Regions from separate parts of the Homo sapiens genome. Here region 1 is linked to region 2. The links are contacts of gene promoters, found by promoter capture Hi-C in human tissues and cell types (Jung and others, 2019). All regions are on one chromosome and are shown on one strand. Each heading gives the region's core, a stretch centred on a gene start or on the middle of the fragment in contact. The rest is flanking DNA. Distances are from core to core; before and after follow the strand shown.

Region 1 (6,691 bases), core at 1-2,500, 41 kb after region 2:
AGGGTTGGGTCCCCACCTGGCCCTAACCTGGTGCCGACTCCCCCATCCGGCTCCGGAGAGGCCTGGGCTCCATCCTCATCGTTCTCCAGGTTCTGTTGCAGAACACAGGTCTCAGGGGGGTTGCTGGGCTGGGGCCCTTCCTCACTCCCTCCCGGGAAGAGAAAAGCAGGCCTACACAACCATTTGCCTGGCCGCCTGGCAGCTGTTCACCTGGCCCTCTGCCCTCCCCGCAGAACGGGTTTGGTGATTCACAGAAACCAGGTAGGAGGTGGGTGGATGCCAGGGCTTTGGGGAGCAGGAGCCTGCATAGATCCCAGGGAAAGGAGAGCTCCCAACTTTGGGTTAGGGTGGAGCTCTCATTCAGTGGCCTAGAATGGGAGCTTGGGAATTGGGGTGCCAGGAAAGGCCAGGCCCAGAGTTCCCAGGTTCAAGGCACAGGGTTCTGGTCCAGGTCTCCAAGAAAAGCAGCCTAGGGTTGGTGGAGGTTTTCTGGGAAAATGGGTTTTTCTGGTTTAGTGGGAGCCAAAGGGTGGGCAAGGACTGGTCATGTGAGAGGAGCTCCAGCTCTTAGGGGTGGTGGTGGGATTAGGGAGAGGGCTTTCAGAATAGAGAAAGGCGTGCGGGTTCCCATCAGCTTAGCTGGCCTGGGGCACAGGGGATGCTCCTGCGTGTGGGGCAAGGTCTGGTTCAGATACAGAGGAGCTCCCCCAACCCAGCGGGGGCCAGGTGCGAGTAGCCAGGATGAGTGGGGAATCCGGTTGGGTTCCCCAGCTGGAGCTGAGGGATGAGCTCCCGGGCCCGGGCACTGGGCTCTTCCCGGCTGGCTGGGGCCCGGTATGGGAACCGGGAGGGCCTGGGCAGGGCTCTGGATCAAGAGTCACGTCCGCGGGGCGGGGGGGCGGTCTCGCGCTTCAGCTGGGGCCTCTAGGCAGATGCTTCCCCGAGTTGAGGCCTTTGGGGCCCGGCCTGGGGTCCCGTCCGGCCGGGGGCAGGGGGTTAGGTGGGCCGGGCGGTTCACCTGGTAGCGCAGCCGGGACTGCTTGTCCTCGTCAGCCACCTCGAACCGGGCCCGACGCTCGAAGTGCAGCGGCCCAAAGCGCGCGACCCCGCTGGACTCGGGCCCAGGGCCCCCGTCCTCCAGGGACAGCTCGAAGGCATCATCAATGCTGAACTGGGGCCGGGCGGCGCTCATGGCCCCGGCCCGCTCAGGCGCCGTGCGCCGCCGCCATCTGCGCCCACACACCCAGCGTCGCCGCTGCCCCGCCCCCGCATGCCCCGCCCCTCCGACCCTGGCTCCGCCCCACGCGCCGGTCCCGCCCCCGTCCGCCCTAAGCAGGCCAGAGTTGCCGAGCCCTGAGCGGGCTGATGGGTGGGAGCCTCTTCCAGACGGAGCGCGCCCGCCCCGTGACGCCACTCAGTGGCCGCCATGGCAAGCGACAGCCCGTGCCGGGCTCGGACACATCCCCCAGGCGTGTATGTGCGGGGGCTTGGAGGGGCTTCCACGCCCCAACCTCCAGGTCCCTGACAGGGCCTTTTGCACCGCAGCCTGTTCCTCGAGTGCCAAGGAGACTCCTGGGAACTGTTTCCCCACCTTACTCACAACAGCCCCGCACCGGAGGGGTGCTCTCCCCATTTTTGCAAATGTGGAAACCGAGGCTCAGAGAGCTTATGTGTCTTCCAATTTCCAGTCAGTCTCCACGCAGCAGCCGAAGTGATCTTTTAAAACAAATCTTTTTATCTGCGTGTGTTATTCTGAAAACCCTTTTTAAAAATTTTGCTGCTGGCCTGGCTCGGTGGCTCACTCCTGTAATCCCAGCACTTTGGGAGGCCGAGGCGGGTGGATCACTTGAGGTCAGGAGTTCAAGACCAGCCTGGCCAAAAGGCGAAACCCCGTCTTTACTAAAAATACAAAAATTAGCCGGGCGTGGTAGTGCATGCCTATAGTCCCAGCTACTTGGGAGGCTGAGGCAGAAGAATTGCTTGAACCCGGGAGGCAGATGTTGCAGTGAGCCGAGATTGAGCCACTGCACTCCAGCCTGGGCGACAGAGCAAGACTCCGTCTCAAAAAACAAAACAAAACAAACAAAAAAACCTTCCCTTGGTTTTCCATTGCACTTAGAATAAAATCTGAACTCTTGGCAGGGCACGGTGGCTCACACTTTGGGAGGCCAAGGAGAGTGGATCACTTGAGGTCAGGAGTTTGAGACCAGCCTGGCCAACATGGTGAAACCCAGTCTCTACTAAAAATACAAAAATTAGCTGGGCACGGTGACCAGTGCCTGTAATCCCAGCTACTTGGGAGGCTGAGGCAGGAGAATCGCTTGTACCCTGGAGGCAGAGGTTGTAGTGAGTGGAGATCACACCACTGCACTCCAGCCTGGGCAACAGAGCAAGACTCCATAAAAAAAAAATGAACCGTGGTGGGGGGCGGTGGGGGTGGAAGAGCAGAAGTACTCTATGAATTAGGTGGACCTGGTTTCAAATCCCCATTCTACCACTTGTAAGTACTTGGGACTTTGGCAAACCCCTCATTCATTTCTGCCACAAGTATTTATTAAGCATCTATTTAGGGCCAAACACTGTTTTGGGCACTATAGATACAGTGGTGAATAAAACAGTGCAAAATGAGACAGTTTCAAGTGCTGTGTGATGCAAAACTGACTTTAGATTTCGTACTCAAAGATGACCTTTCCAAGAGGTGACATTTGAGCAGGAATGCCGATGATGAAGGAGCCAGCTGTGAGAAAAGCAAGGTTCAGTGTTTTCCTGGCACCAGGGAACAGCACGTTCAAAGGCCAGGAGGTGGGAAGGAGCTTGGCCTGTGGAGGAAGAATGTGAGAAAACCAGTGTGGCTGAGCAGCAAGGAAAGGGGCAGGCCGACTTGATGAGCCTGGGAGGAGTAGATGGGCCCCAGAGCCTTGAGAGCTTTATGGACCTTAGTCAAGAGTTCTTTTTTGTTTTTGTTTTTTTCGACACAGGGTCTCGCTCTGTTGCCCAAGCTGGAGTGCGATCTCAGCTCACTGCAACCTCCACCTCCTGGGTTCAAGTGATTCTCCTGCCTCAGCCTCCCGAGGAGGCTGGGATTACAGGCATGAGCCACAGTGCCCTGCCTTATTATTATTATTATTATTATTATTATTTTTGAGACAGAGTCTCGCACCGTCACCCGGGCTGGAGTGCAGTGGCAAGATCTCGGCTTGCTGCAACCTCCGCCCCCTGGGTTCAAGCGATTCTCCTGCCTCAGCCTCCCCTGTAGCTAGGATTACAGGCGTGATCTGCCCACCTCGGCCTCCCAAGGTGCTGGGTATGAGCCACCACACCCGGCCTCATGTTCATTTTATGGCCTCATGTACAGAGCTGAGTCAAGTCTACTTCTGTTTGTTACACATCAACACTATGAATAAGGCCCCTCTCGAGTTATGTTAATTCACTTACCCTCTTTCACTTCCCAGGTTCCTTCCTCTCCCCTGCCTTCCATCAGACCCATGTCAGCATGCTCAGTCGGCGTCCTTAAAGCCTGCCTGGCTCTGTACCATGTATGGCACTGTCTCCTATGTGGATGTGTTTGCAATTTACAAACATGATGTCATGCAGAAAATTCAGTTCTGTTACTTACACGTTTACATTTTTGCTCTCGATGCTGTTTTCCATATGCATTTGTTTATTGTTTCTACAGGCTACATGCATGTTGTACCATGTTGAGTGTCTAGCACCTTTATGATCCACCTCACCTCCACAGTGTTGTACACTCAAACTGGCCTCAACCCCGCCATCACAGGCATCACTGCAGTTAACATCTTCCTGCTGTCCCCTTATGGACTGTGGGAGAATTCCCCTTGGGGTAGGATTTCCAGGTTATAGGGCACACGCACTCATGACTTCACAGGGTACCACAGATGCTCTCCTGAGTGGCTGTGAGAGTTGACACTCCACCTGAGGCTTCTGGTTCTCTCAGGACTTGGTACCATCCAACTTTTTAATGGCTTGCCGATCTGATGAATTTAAAGTGGTACCTCATGTTCCTCTGGGTTCTCTGATGGCTGGAGAGTTTGAGCTGCTCTTTGTGCCCTTGTCAGCCATTGGGTGTCCCTTGTCTGTGAACTGGCTTTTCATATCTTTGGTCTTTCTTTTTGCTATTGGGTTTCTAGCCTTTTTCCACTAATTTGCATATCAACATATCTAATCATTAATTCCTTGCTGGTTTATGACCTTGCACATATTTCCTATCTGTCTGTCTTTGACTCTTTGTCTAACATGCTCTCAAAGAATAATCACTCCTTTTCAGGCTGGGTGCAGTGGCTCATGTCTGTAATCCCAGCACTTTGGGGAAGCTGAGGCAGGAGGATCACTTGAGGCCAGGAATTCAAGATCAGCCTCAGCGTAGCAAGGCTGATGCAGGGCAGGTGATCCCCAAAATTGGGGCTTAGCCCAAGAGAGTGCTTGGCTTCACCTGGGAAAGAATTCAAGGGTGAGCTGGTGGTGTTAGACAGCAACTTAAACATTTTTTAAAATTTTTTATTTTTTTAAGACTGAGCCTTGCTCTGTCGCCCAGGCTGGAGTGCAGTGGTGTGATCTCGGCTCACTGCAATCTCTGCCTCTTGGGTTCAAGCGATTCTTCTGCCTCAGCCTCCCAAGTGGCTTGGATTACAGGCGTCTGCCACCACGCCCAGCTAATTTTTGTATTTTTAGTAGAGACAGGATTTCGCCATTTTGGCCAGGCTGGTCTCCATCTTCTGACCTCAGTTGATCTGCCCACTTCAGCCTCCCAAAGTGCTGGGATTACAGGCGTGAGCCACCGTGCCTGGCCTTATTTTTTACTTATTGGAAAGCAACTTTTACAGAAGCAGCAGCGCACAGCAGCAGCACAGGCGTCGCTCCTTGTGGAGCAGGGCCATCCCACAGGCAGTGTGCCCCCAGCAGCTGCTCAGAGGCAGTTCTGCAGCCATATTTATGCCCACTTTTAATTACATGCAAATTGAGGGGTGAATTATCCAGAAATTTCTAGGGAAAGAGTGGTAACTTCTGGGCCGTCAGGTCATTGCCACCGAAGGGGGTGGTAACTTCTAGGTGTTGCCATGGCAATGGTAAACTGACATGCACTGGTCTTACGGGTCTTAGGTCTTATGGAGAGGTGCTTTCACCTCTTCCCTGTTTTATTTTTTTGAGACGGAGTCTCCCTCTGTTGTCCAGGCTGGAGTGCAGTGGCACGATCTAGGCTCACTGCAACCTCCACCTCCTGGGTTCAAGCGATTCTCTGCCTCAGCCTCCGGAGTAGCTGGGATTACAGGCATCCGCCACTACACCCAGCTAAGTTTTGTATTTTTAGTAGAGATGGTGTTTTACCATGTTGGCCAAACTGGTCTCAAATTCCTGGCCTCAAGTGATCCACCTGCCTCACCCTCCCAAAGTGCTGGGATTACAGGCATGAGCCACCATGCGCAGCATTCCCTGTTTTAGCTAGTTCTCAATCTGGTCTGGTGTCTGTGTCCCACCTCCAGAGCTGAGTCCTGCCACCTACCTCATTCCTCGCTCAGAGATTAGATACTCCTTCTTAATCTTAAGAGGGCAGCGGAAGGGCAGAGATCCATCTTCTGTAACTGCTTCCTGTTGAGTTTATGGGCATAGCCCCTTCCTAGCACTGGAGAGGTAAAAATCTCCAGATACCCGGTCGGGTGCAGTGGCTCATGCCTGTAATCCCAGAACTGTGGGAGGCTGAGGCGGGTGGATCACAAGGTCAGGAGGTCGAGACCATCCAGGCCAACATGGTGAAACCCTGTCTCTACCATCCTGGCTAACACAGTGAAACCCCATCTCTACTAAAAATACAAAAAATTAGCTGGGCGTGGTGGCAGGCCCCTGTAGTCCCAGCTACTTGGGAGGCTGAGGCAGGAGAACGGCGTGAACCCGGGAGGTGGAGGTTGCAGTGAGCTGAAATCGCGCCACTGCACTCCAGCTTGGGCGACAGAGCGAGACTCCGTCTCAAAAAACAAACGAACAAAAAAAAGAAACCCCGTCTCTACTAAAAATACAAAAATTAGCTGGGCATGGTGGCAGACGCCTGTAATCCCAGCTACTTGGGAGGCTGAGGCAGAGAATCTCTTGAACCCGGGAGGTGGAGGTTGCAACGAGCCAAGATCTCGCCTCTGGACTCCAGCCTGGGTGACAGAGCGAGACTCTGTCTCAAAAAAAAAAAAAAAAAAAAAAAAAAAATCTCCTGATACCCGATCTAAGGGTCCAAAAGACAGGATACTTTCATTACCCAGGTCAGTAGATGAATGGGTCGGAAGCCTTGTGCCAGCATTGTGTTTACCTGAAACTGTTGCAATCTCAAAGACTTACTAAGAGTTTAAACAACCACAGCCAAAAATTAGGAATAACAAGATGGCTATCAAAGGTCCTAGGAGAGGTAAAAAACCAGGTGAGACTCGGGAAGGCATTTTTGATAGTTGACCAGATATTGCTGGGGTTGGTGCTATGGTTCTATCTATGTAGCCAAGTAGCTTGTTCATAGATCTTTCGAATGTTAGCCTCAGTCTGTTTGGAGCTGGTAAGACATGTGCAGCAGGTTTTATTAATAACTGCACAAACTTCACCTTGTTCAGCTAGTAAATAATCTAATGCTAATCTGTTACAGAGAACTATGTTTGCCAAAGAGTCTAGAAATTCTTGAATTCCCTTTAAGGCCTGACCC
Region 2 (4,110 bases), core at 1,611-4,110:
ACAACTCCTCCCAGGATCAGCTAGATAGGGGGTGGGGAAGGGGGATCAAGAGACGGGTAGGGGATACTTGTAGCATCTGGAGCTAAGGGAAAACCACCCCACTGGCCTGGTGTCTGAGTTGCCCTGGGTTGCTAGGGGCCTGCCCTACACCCACATCAAGACCCGAACCTGGGGATCTCCTTTGGTGGAATTACAACCAGAGGGCCACATTCAACGAGATAACCCTCTGCATGCCTGGAGACCCCTGAATTCTGTCCACCTCAGTTCATACCCAACCTCCCCTATGCACATGGAAGGCACACCTAGACAGCCTCCAACAATCAGAACTCACACCCAAGGCCTGGTCTGACCCAAATTCACACCCACACATCCCCATCCAATAAGAATCCATACCCAATCTTTTTTTTTTTTTTTGAGACAGTTTCACTCTTGCTGCCCAGGCTGGAGTGCAATGGCACAGTCACGGCTCACTGAAACCTCTGCCTCCCGGGTTTAAGTGATTCTTCTGCCTCAGCCTCTCAAGTAGCTGGGATTACAGGCACCCACCACCACACCCAGCTAATTTTTGTATTTTTAGTAGAGACGGGGTTTCACCATGTTGGCCAGACTGGTGTCGAACTCCTGACCTCAAGCGATCCACCCGGCTCGACCTCCCAAAGTGCTAGGGTTGCAGGTGTGAGCCACCGCGCCCCGCCAAATCCATACCCAATCTAAAGTCACAGACCACATGTCACAGACAAGATTTGCTGTGTTGAGTGTGTTCATTCCTTCTTTCTTTTTTTTTCTTTTTTTGGAGACGGAGTCTCACTCTGTTGCCCAGGCTGTAGTGCAATGGCGTGATCTTGATTCACTGCAACCTCTGCCTCCCAGGTTCAAGCGATTTTCCTACCTCAGCCTCCCAAGTAGCTGGGACTATAGGCATGCACCACCACTCCCGGCTAATTTTTGTATTTTTAGTAGAGACAGGTTTTCACTATGTTGGTTAAGCTGGTCTTGAACTCCTGACCTCAAGTGATCCACCCGCCTTGGCCTCCCAAATTGCTGGGATCGCAGGCATGAGCGACCCTGCCTGGCCTAAGTTCATTCTGTCAACAGCGTTTTTGGTTTTTGCTGGGTGTAGTGGCTCATGCCTGTAATCACAGCACTTTGGAAGGCCAAGGCAGGAGGATCACTTGAGTCCAGAAGTTCAAGACCAGCCTCCTGGGCAACAAAACAAGACCTCCCCTCTAAAAAAAAAAAAAAAGAAAGAAAGAAAGAAAAGAAAAAAGATTATGTGATTATGTCATTCCAGTTACTTGGGATTTGAGGTGGGAGAATCACTGGAACCCAAGAAGTCAAGGCTGCAATGAGCCACGATCTTGCCACTGTACTCCAGCCTGGGTGACAGAGTAAGATCCTGTCTGAAAAACTAAACAAAACAAAGAAAAAAAAACCATAAAGTTTTTTTTTTTTTTTTTTTTTTTTTTTTTTTTTTTTTTAAGATGGAGTCTCGCTCTTGTTGCCCAGGCTGGAGTACAATGGCATGATCTTGGCTCACCGCAACCTCCGCTTCCCAGGTTCAAGTGATTCGCCTGCCTCAGCCTTCCCGAGTAGCTGGGATTACAAGCATGCACCACCATGCCCAGCTAATTTTGTGTTTTTAGTAGAGACGGGGTTTCTCCATGTTGGTCAGGCTGGTCCTGAACTCCCGACCTCAGGTGATCCGCCTGGCTCGGCCTCCCAAAGTGCTGGGATTACAGGTGTGAGCCACCGTGACCAGCCAGGTTTTCGGGTTTTATCTGTTTGAGACTTGGTCTCACTCTGCCGCCCAGCCTGGAGCGCAGTGGTGCAATCTTGGCTCACTGCAACCTCTATCGCCCGAGTTCAAGCGATTCTCCTGCCTCAACCTCCCGAGTATCTGGGAGTACAGGTGCGCGCCACCACACCCGTCTAATTTTTTGTATTTATAGTAGAGGCAGAGTTTCATCATGTTGGCCAGGCTGGTCTCCAACTTCTGACCTCAAGTGATCCACCCACCTCGGCCTCCGAAAGTGTTGAGATTACAGGTGTGAGCCACCGCCTCCGGCCTGTTTGTTTTTTTGAGACAGGATCTCACTGTGTCACCCAGCCTGGAGTGCAGTGGCACCATCATAGCTCACTGTAACCTTGAACTCCTGGCCTCAAGTGATCCTCCCAACTTGGCTTCCCAAAGTGCTACGATTACAGGCGTGAGGCATCGTGTCCGGCCTCAACAACGTTTTTTGAAGTGTCTATTCTGTACCAGGTGCCTAAATGTGCTTAAATTAAGAAGGGAGTAAACGCCAACAAAATCCCATATTTACAGGTCTATCACTGACCCCCAAAACCCTATTTAAGGCGGGAACCTGGCAACATAGCCTGGCAGTGAGCTGGCCACTCAGTAAATGCTCCGATTTGCAGGGTCCTCGAGCCAGAGGCACTTTGAGGAGACCCTGATGCAGCCGCCTCCCTTTCTGGAGTGAACCGAAAGCAACGCGACCTGCCTTTCATCACGCAGCCGGCCTGGCAGTACCCGTCTCCAACAGGGCTGGGGATTGCATTTACATTCACACCTGCATACACTTCCGACCCTGCTCCATCCAAACTCAAAACACCGTAGAACCAAAACGGGCTCCCAGAAAGCCTTGCTGGGAAGACCGAGGGTCCTGCGGAAAGGATTCTGCAGGCTGAAGGCTAGGCGCCTCGCCACTCTAGGACTACAATTCCCGAGAGGCCTTGCGACGGAAGCCATCTTTGTTCCCCACCAGGCTAAGCGATTTTCCGGAGGGGGAGTAAGATCCCTTGCGTCACCGGCGCGCGCAGCTGCCGTCGCGGAGAGATGATGTTTAGGTCCGGGACTGTCAGTCAGTGCGCGGCCAGGTACGGGCCGACGGGCCCGCGGGGCCGGCGCCGCCATGGCGGCCGTGTTTGATTTGGATTTGGAGACGGAGGAAGGCAGCGAGGGCGAGGGCGAGCCAGAGCTCAGCCCCGCGGTGAGTGCCCTGCCCTGGCGCGACTGGATCCTGGAGCCGATCCTGTCACCCAGCCGAGGCCGGAGCGGCGGCTCCGCACGCCCAGAGCGGGCTCCGACTCTTTGCAGACCCAGATCCTTCTCAGATCCCGGTCTCTATTAAGTTCTGATCCCACCCTCACCCCGACCTCTCTTCCAGAACCCCAGCCTTTTCTCCCGATTCTCCCTTTCCTGCCTTCGGTTTCTTCCCAATTCTTACCCATCCCCTACTAGCTGCCATCCCTGACACCCTTCTCTCCTGGGCCACGCAGTCCAACCTGAACGGGAGCGGGGAGGTATCCTGGCACCTTCCTTGGCTCTTACCCCTCGGTTTCTCACAGGACGCATGTCCCCTTGCCGAGTTGAGGGCAGCTGGCCTAGAGTGAGTGAGGGTCGTGTTGGGGGAGGGGGGAATGGAGTGGGGAAGGGGAACTGGGGAGCACTGGAGCCTTGTCCTCATTAACTCCTTGTGTCCGTAGGCCTGTGGGACACTATGAAGAGGTGGAGCTGACTGAGACCAGCGTGAACGTTGGCCCAGAGCGCATCGGGCCCCACTGCTTTGAGCTGCTGCGTGTGCTGGGCAAGGGGGGCTATGGCAAGGTAGGGGCGGGCGCACCCTCCTCCTGGCCTCACAGCCTCCATCTGGAGGCAGCAAAGGGTTCTCAAAACAAATTAGACTTGTGAATCAGCAGGGCCTCTAATGGGATTCAGAGCCAGAAACATAAAGGAGGGAAGGCCAAATCCTCTCCAATCGGACTTGAAATCTTCACTGCCCCACCCTTGGCAGGGCCTAGGCCTCCTGATCCCAAAGCCAGAGCTTCAGGGTGGGGCTTCTTGAAGATAGGATGTGGAGAGGGAAGTTGATCCTGTCTCCCCTGCCCTACAGGTGTTCCAGGTGCGAAAGGTGCAAGGCACCAACTTGGGCAAAATATATGCCATGAAAGTCCTAAGGAAGGTGAGTCACTCGTTCAGCCAACGAATACTGTGTGGCTGCCATTCCCAACATGCTGTACCAGGCTTTGGGAAGACAGCAGGGAACACAGTGGAGGAGGATCCCTGACTTTGGCGTTTGCTGGTTTATTGTCTGTTGTGATGTGTATTGT

Evidence for each region. Contacts are between HindIII fragments. The study calls those that stand out against the background at their distance.
Region 1: a contact is called between the fragment with the promoter of TMEM134 here and the fragment with the promoter of RPS6KB2 in region 2, in 1 of the 25 tissues and cell types used here (spleen).

The regions. Positions count from the first base shown.
Region 1 is chr11:67,468,001-67,474,691 of GRCh38, forward strand. It overlaps TMEM134 (transmembrane protein 134), which reads right to left and starts at 1,251. Exons shown (of 7, transcript NM_025124.4): 1 at 1,019-1,251; 2 at 28-92. The coding sequence starts at 1,192. RefSeq lists silencers at 836-975, 1,186-1,325 and enhancers at 863-1,487, 1,476-1,655. The HindIII fragment of the contact is 18,331 bases long and covers 1-6,691 here.
Region 2 is chr11:67,425,634-67,429,743 of GRCh38, forward strand. It overlaps RPS6KB2 (ribosomal protein S6 kinase B2), which reads left to right and starts at 2,861. Exons shown (of 15, transcript NM_003952.3): 1 at 2,861-2,990; 2 at 3,349-3,389; 3 at 3,487-3,607; 4 at 3,894-3,962. The coding sequence starts at 2,913. RefSeq lists enhancers at 2,405-2,554, 2,571-3,338, 2,655-2,904, 3,339-4,106. The HindIII fragment of the contact is 10,585 bases long and covers 1-4,110 here.